Regions from separate parts of the Homo sapiens genome. Here region 2 is linked to region 1. Evidence: promoter capture Hi-C in 16 types of primary human blood cells and fetal thymus (Javierre and others, 2016). All regions are on one chromosome and are shown on one strand. The core of a region is centred on a gene start or on the middle of the fragment in contact, and the rest is flanking DNA. Distances in the headings are between cores, read along the strand shown.

What was found. Contacts are between HindIII fragments. The CHiCAGO score rates a contact against its expected background, and 5 or more counts as called.
Region 2: a contact is called between a fragment that was not itself captured here and the fragment with the promoter of ARSK in region 1, in 1 of 17 cell types (non-activated CD4 T cells). The highest score is 5.9, in non-activated CD4 T cells.

Annotation. Positions count from the first base shown.
Region 1 is chr5:95,552,810-95,556,543 of GRCh38, forward strand. It overlaps ARSK (arylsulfatase family member K), which reads left to right and starts at 2,292. Exons shown (of 8, transcript NM_198150.3): 1 at 2,292-2,595. The coding sequence starts at 2,470. It overlaps SKIC3 (SKI3 subunit of superkiller complex), which reads right to left and starts at 2,168. Exons shown (of 43, transcript NM_014639.4): 1 at 2,127-2,168. The HindIII fragment of the contact is 6,579 bases long and covers 1-2,367 here.
Region 2 is chr5:96,664,845-96,668,685 of GRCh38, forward strand. The region is part of intron 1 of CAST (calpastatin); the gene reads left to right. Among named protein-coding and RNA genes, the nearest start is that of CAST, 4.4 kb to the left of the region's middle. The HindIII fragment of the contact is 1,868 bases long and covers 317-2,184 here.

The sequences.
Region 1 (3,734 bases), core at 1,042-3,541:
GAGGAAACCTGAAATTATGAGAACTAGCTGAAGAAACTGGGGACTAGGAAAAATAAATAAATGGTGGCGAGGGAGTTGGGGGAAGGACTGTTGAAAGGGAGAGATTATCCATGTAAAAGTGAAGAAAAATGCACTAATGAATGGTTAAAAATAGAGGAAGATTAACTTCAACTTAAAATAGGAACTTTTAATGAGACCTATATAAATGTGGAATGAGGTACTCAATGGAAGTGTTTCCCATCACTGGAGATGAAAAAGCACAGGCTGGACAATCCACTCAGCAGGAATGTTTTAGGATAAACTGAATGTCAGATGGGAAGTAGGACTAGAAGCCTCTTAGATTCTTCCAGCACAACGTCTCTAAGGCTCTAAAATATCTGTCTTGCTCCAAATCACTGCAGCACCTGCTCCTATTGACACTGCCAAGGGGAGAAAGAAGAAAAAGATGTATTCTTGTAAGCCTGTCATCAGAGTACATGTCCTGTGGAAACAAGGCTGTAGAGAGTAAGCACAGTTTATGGAATCAGACACAAAATTAAATATAACTTTTATGAATTTAAATGTCAGTCAATATTGTCACTATGGTAGAAAATACGTTCTACATTCCAAATTAACTCAAAACAAATTTGTTTTTATGAGAGAGCCCACTTGTATTACCTTCCGTGCTGTATTATTATTTCATGTATGCTTGGTTTTGCTTCCCTGAAATCTAAACTCATGTAAACTGAGACTATTGTTTAGGGGTTTTTTTGTTTTTGTTTTTTTTTTGAGATGGAGTTTTGCTCTTGTTGCCCAGGCGGAGTGCAAAGGTGCGATCTCAGCTCACTGCAACCTCCACCTCCTGGGTTCAAGTGATTCTCCTGCCTCAGCCTCCCTAGTAGCTGGGATTACAGGCGCCCGCCACCACGCCCAGTATTTTGCGTATTTTTCGTAGAGACGGGGTTTCACCATGCTGGCCAGGCTGGTCTCGAACCCCTAACCTTCGGTGATCCGCCCGTCTCGGCTTCCCAAAGTGCTGGGATTACAGGCGTGAGCCACCGCGCCCAACACTGTTTACGTTTTTGCATGCTCCCGCAGATCTTTATCATGCTGCTTGAGTAACAATTCTGCTACACTAACAGATAAACTAACTGCAGACAGAGCATTTAGTGAGTTACGGCACAGACTCTTCAATTTTCAGTCGTGCTCTGACTGGCTCCCTGTGTAAACTCAGGCCAGTCATTTAACCTCTCTAAGCCTGTTTTCCTATCTGCAATATGGTGAAAGTGAGGATTATAGAAAATATTCCATATAAAAGTACGTGGCACGCAGCAGATGCTCAGTAAATGCTTAGTATAACGCTCAGCACCTAAGTGCCATGTGAGTATTAAATAAACAAATCTGTTCCTTACTACAATTATCTTAGGCAAAAAAAAACCTGCCAGATATTAGTATTCAGTTGACTTAAGTAAGTAGTATAACTCCTCTTTTAACTGTCAGAATATTAAAACTACTAGTGTGATGTGCAAATTATATACCCGAAACTAGATACAGAAATTGGAATTTGGCTTTGGGACAGAAATCTGCTTCTTCCAGAACTCTCCAAAGGAATTCAACAGTCAAAAGAGACCGGTTTTTATTCTGCAGCAAAACAATGATATTCTGAACCTACGTCAACTAACTGAACATGTCACACAGCCCATTTCCCCCTCCAGTTTCGCTTATCTCCTTTGCTCTCTGAAGGCAAGGAACAGCTATGCTTTCCCCTGCCTACAGCCTGAAACTTCTTACTAGGCCCCGCTCCTCGCCCCATGGGAGCACAGTAAATCCTGACTGCACGGGGTAAGAGAAGCAATAAGATGAGACAGGCTAGAGATTTCCCTGGGAAGGTATTCGGGGGGGTCTAAGGCATTCACGGCGCACCTGAGGCGGTCCACCCAGAGGCCCCACAAGGCACCGCCCTATTCAACTTAAGTGACAGCCGCGCCGCCACCTCATCGCCGCCCAGTTCACGCTCTCGCCGAACACTCAGCCACGCTTGCGCGGCCCAAAATGAACAGCCCCGGCCCCGATCCTTTCTTTCTCTAAGTACCATTTCAATCGCCTTTAGGATCCCTTGTGCAAAACCGACAGAAATCCAAACCCACCTGGAGCAGATGCTCCTCTTCTACAAACGCCGAGGCTGCAATGAGAGCGCATGCGCCTTTCCCAGGACTCATTCACGTGACTGGAAGTGGCTGGGTTCTGATTTGCTCGGTATTTGATTAAAAGGTCTTAACGTGGGTAAAAGCGGGAATTTCTCTGTTGCGCATGTGCGCGCTCTCCGCCTGATAGGAGTTGTAGTTCTGCGGGTGAAGCTCGGCGTTACTATCAAGCAACCAAACTGCAAGCTTTGGGAGTTGTTCGCTGTCCCTGCCCTGCTCTGCTAGGGAGAGAACGCCAGAGGGAGGCGGCTGGCCCGGCGGCAGGCTCTCAGAACCGCTACCGGCGATGCTACTGCTGTGGGTGTCGGTGGTCGCAGCCTTGGCGCTGGCGGTACTGGCCCCCGGAGCAGGGGAGCAGAGGCGGAGAGCAGCCAAAGCGCCCAATGTGGTGCTGGTCGTGAGCGACTCCTTCGTAAGTACCGCGAGGCAGGGGAGGGGCGCCCCGCTGGGGATCGGCGACCTCACCGCCGCCGCCTGTGCTGCAGGCTTTGGGGAGCAGAACCTGAGACATTTTCAAACACCTTTTACCCCGATGCAAAGAAAGAAATACATTTTATGTGAGGCCCCGTGTACTCACACGTACACCACATACCTATGCAAACATGTAAAACAATAGTGAAACACTGAAAACATCTTTGCAGATCTTTTTTTTTTAATACTGACCTCGATTCGCTAAATTATTTTACCACGACTAATGAACTTTCAGTCCATACCCCCGTTTGGTTTAATTGTGTGGTAAAATAACATTCTGCATCTCCATAAAAGCGTGTTAGCTTTCCAAAAGTCATTTTCCAGTTCACCTCAAGTTTGCAGGAATTCATGTTTGGGTGAGAAGTGAAGAAAGTTTATTTTTATTACCCAGGTCTGTGATAATCCTGTTAGTGCTGATTCAAATGGAATCGTTGGTATAACTTGATTCACTCCCCCGTATTCCAGAGAAATTGTGTGTATGTGTGTGTGTTGGTAATGTGGCTGAATCCCAAACTTAAACAGTTTTTGAAACTTTCCCAAGCCAAAGGTGCTACTGTCAACCTTACGCGATGCTTTTAGGATGATCCATGTTTTAAAAAGTGCTGCTTAGACAATTGTTTGGTTATTAATTGTAATATTAGTTTATTATCACTCGGTGTTACTGTGGTCACACAGATGTTGGTGTTAAGCATATCTGGCACTAAAGAGTGTTTGTAATCATATGTTGTATTTCCTTTCTCGTAGATTCCTGATGATTAAAATTACATAGTCTGGATGTGCCCATGGGATTTTTTGAAAATATTACTTAAAGTTATCTTTGTGATTTAAACTTAGAGAATGGGCAGTACTGGAAATTGACTAGATGGCATTTTATTACAGAGTGCTCTTGTAATCAAAGGCAAATGAAGGAAGCAGGATTGTGCAGAGGAGAAGCTGAATTTTGTTGCCATCTTATGAATGACAGTTCTCAAACTAGTATGGTGCTTCAGAGCTGCTTTCCAATAGGAGTGAGGAGAACAGACCTTTCCACCTGCATGTTGGATGGCCACTGGTTGTGGGCTGCTCCTAGAATGGGGCATG
Region 2 (3,841 bases), core at 1-2,500, 1.1 Mb after region 1:
AAACCACATCAATTTGCTTTGAGTCATTATTGGCCTAAGGTTCTTATCAAAATGTACCATGTACCTTATCTGCAAATATGGATAGCAGTAGTTCAGAGTTGACATCAAAATTCTCCTTCCAGACTCATGATTCTCTCAAGGAAACTCTGCTGGGTTACTTGGATGAAAGTAGTTTGAATCTATGCTTTTAACCCTGTTTTGTTTAGTCACAGTCTGATGTTTTTGCTAAAACCTCTCTTAGAATCCCATTTTGGTACTACCATGAAAACTTTTTGCTAGTAGGAACTTCCTAGAACCAGCTACATGCCTGTGATCAAGCTTTAGCTTTGCCCAAACCAGTGCTATTCAATAGAAACATAATGTGAGCCACGTCTGCAATTTCAGATTTCCAAGGAGCCACTTTAACAACAACATCACAACAAAAAGCAGGTGAAATTTGTGCTAATTGATATATTTTACTTAACCTACTATATCCCACATATTATTATTTCATCATGTAATCAGTGTATAAGCCATTGAGATATTTTACATTCTTTTTTATACTAATTCTTCAAAATCCAATGTATATTTACATTAACAGCACATCTCAATTCACACTTGCCACATTTCAAGAGTGTTCAGTAGCCACAAGCAGCTAGGGGCTATAGTAATGGACAGTATAGCGCTAGACCATGGACTCCTAAACTTTCTTTTTTTCCTTTGGTGATAGGTGGGTGGTCACAGACAATTTTGAGAATCAAATGGGATTTATGGACTGCTTTCCCACAACAAAATACATACAAACATACACAAAATGCAGTTTCCAATATAGCTTCAGGGAGTTCAGAGATTTCCAAAAGACCACCCATAAATCCCCCAAAGGTCCATGGAGCCAGTTTATAACACACACACACACACATACACACACACACACACATATACATACACACATACAAACATATACAATCCAATATACATATATGTGCATATTTATATATAATACACACATGCATGTATAATACATATGTAGACATCTAGATTTATGTGTGTATGTATCTACAGATATAAATACAGATGTCTGTCTGTATGTACACATGCATGTATAATACATATATAGACAGATTTATATGCATATATATCTACAGATATAAACACAGATATCGGTATATACACAGACATCTCAGAATACTTCAGGTAAATCCTATAATTAAAATATCTTTGTGGAATCCTTTAAGTACTGAAAAGGTTATAAATGATCTAACTTTCAAAATTTAGGCAGAATAAAATGAAATAATTAAAAGACATGTCTCAGATGTGTTCGTTTAACAGCATGCCACCTATAAAGCTAGTCAGTGAAACGTTGCAATGTATATTTCCACATTGAATGCCATCAATCCTATTGACTTTATCTTCTGAAAAATGTGGTTGTAGTAAACACACACACACACACACACACCACACAACTCTGCAGAGCTAAATTTGAAGAACATCTATGAGCTATGTAATGATCAAGCATGAACGAAGGTTAATTTGGCCCACACCAGTCATCACATTCCTGAATCATCAGTTGATTCTATTAGACTATGTTAATTAAAGGTGTTTCTTAGCCTAATTAGATCCATAGACCTAGTGACAGCATGATCAAGGAGCCCAGTCATTTGGGAGGCCCCATCATTGCTGCCAGCCTGGGAAGAATGTTGCAAGCCTTCCATGGCAGGACAGATCACTTGCTCACAGTGAATTTTAGAACTAAGGAAGGCAAATAACAGGGCCTGCAAAAAGGGCATAGACTTTAGGGTAATGGAAACATAGAGGTCAAATACAGCCTTTCTCTTTCAGCTGACAGTCTTTGAATTAGTTCGCGCCCCATTGTGTATAAGCCTTTTAAACCAAGAGTAGCATCTGATAATATCTTTCTTTAAATCAGTTTTGGCACTTCCCAGAAGGTTAATTATATTCTACAGGTGCCTTTTAAAGAATGCTATAGCCTTCTGGGGGTGGGAACAGTGGGGGGTCATGTGAGATTCCATGTGGATAGGTGGGTAATTAGTTCTGACTAGATTGTCTCAGCAGATACAAAACTACTCTAAGTAGTACATCATTTTTCCCCCTTGAGGTATTTTTAAGATGAAAATCATATTAACAGATACTAAAGTTCTGTTCTTTGAGTTGTCTCATTTTCCTTTCATGAAAACATACCCAGAAAGCTTTACAGCCACCATAAAGGCGGGGGGCAGGGGGAAGTATATCAGATGTCTTCCAGTTAAGAAAAATGCAAGAACAGTTCCATCCAATAAACACTGTTCATGTAAGTTATCTCCTCAGATGGAAAAGTCAGTTAACTCAGGAAGAAAAAGGTCTAAAGTTATAGTTTCCTAAAAATGTATGAAATTTGTTTTGGTTGTAGGAAACTCATAGAACATAAGAATAAATTTGGTAAAGCTCAAAGATGTTCACAGTTGTTTATTGTCCACCTGCTGTGTGTCAGTTTTGTGCAGAGTGCGGTGGACACAAAAAAATCGTGCAGTGGTCTGTGCCTGGCCTCCTCTTGCATTTCTCATAGATAAAACTACAAGTTCATTCTCATGACAACTGCTGTGGCAACAAAGCAACTATTTAAATTCTCATGATACCCCCTTTGACTTAAGAAAAACTCATCCAGCCTTACTTCAGGTGAATCCCAGGAGCTAATCTATGACAGGCAATAGATGCCACCTCTGAAAATTGGACACAAAGGGCCTGTACCTTTACAGTGTCATCTTGTCATGTCCACTGAAATCTTAAAATGTTAGAAAAAACGAACACTTGGGGTTCAGTGAAAACAGAGGGATTTCAGAATTACAGCTATGCAGTTAATCCTTAATATATATTAAGCATTAGTACACAGAATAAGAGAAGAGTATAATGAGGCTGGGTGCGGTTGGCTCACGCCTGTAATCCCAGCACTTTGGGAGGCTGAGGCGGATGGATCACAAGGTCAGGAGTTCAAGACCAGCCTGGCCAAGATGGTGAAACCCCATCTCTACTAAAAATACAAAAAAATTAGCTGGGCGTGGTGGCAGGCGCCTGTAATTCCAGCTACTCAGGAGGCTGAGGCAGGAGAATGGCGTGAACCCGCGAGGCGGAGCTTGCAGTAAGCCGAGATTGCACCACTGCACTCCAGCCCGGGCGACAGAGCAAGACTCCGTCTCAATAAATAAATGAATAAATAAATAAATAAGTATAATGACCTCTTCATATACCAATCATTGGTGTCAATAATTGTCAACATTGTCCTAATCTTGTTTTATCTGTTAACCGTCACAGCTACCAGCACAGACACGCGTGCACACACACACACACACACACACCCTTTCAACATGTTTTAAAGCATGGGAATTGCAAATATAAGTCATCCTTGTAACCAAATTGCTGTAGTTTGTTGGGAAAATGAATTCTTTAACCCCCATGTAGTTTATCTCCTTGAGTGTTATACGAAGATGTGAGAATAATATATAATACACAGTCATGAGATAGACAAAGTACTAAACAAAAACTTAATCAGATGAACCTGATAAGGTTCCTTTGTACTTTAGGGAAAGTAAAATACTAAATTCTTCTGTTCTAATGTTTACAGCCTTAGAAAATGAAACCCTCAAACCTTAACTCACTGGCTTCTAATTCACCACAGTCAGATTGCCAGGGAAAAAGAAGGGAGTGAAATAATTTTAATTGTGTTCTTAAAATGAACAAGGCAATGAACCAGGTGCCTCACTAATGTCAACTCTTTTCATAAATTTGCCAGCCCCTGGGATAGATACCATTAGCCCTATTTTACAAAAAGAAACTGAAAAATTAAATTATCTGCCCAAGGTCACGGTCA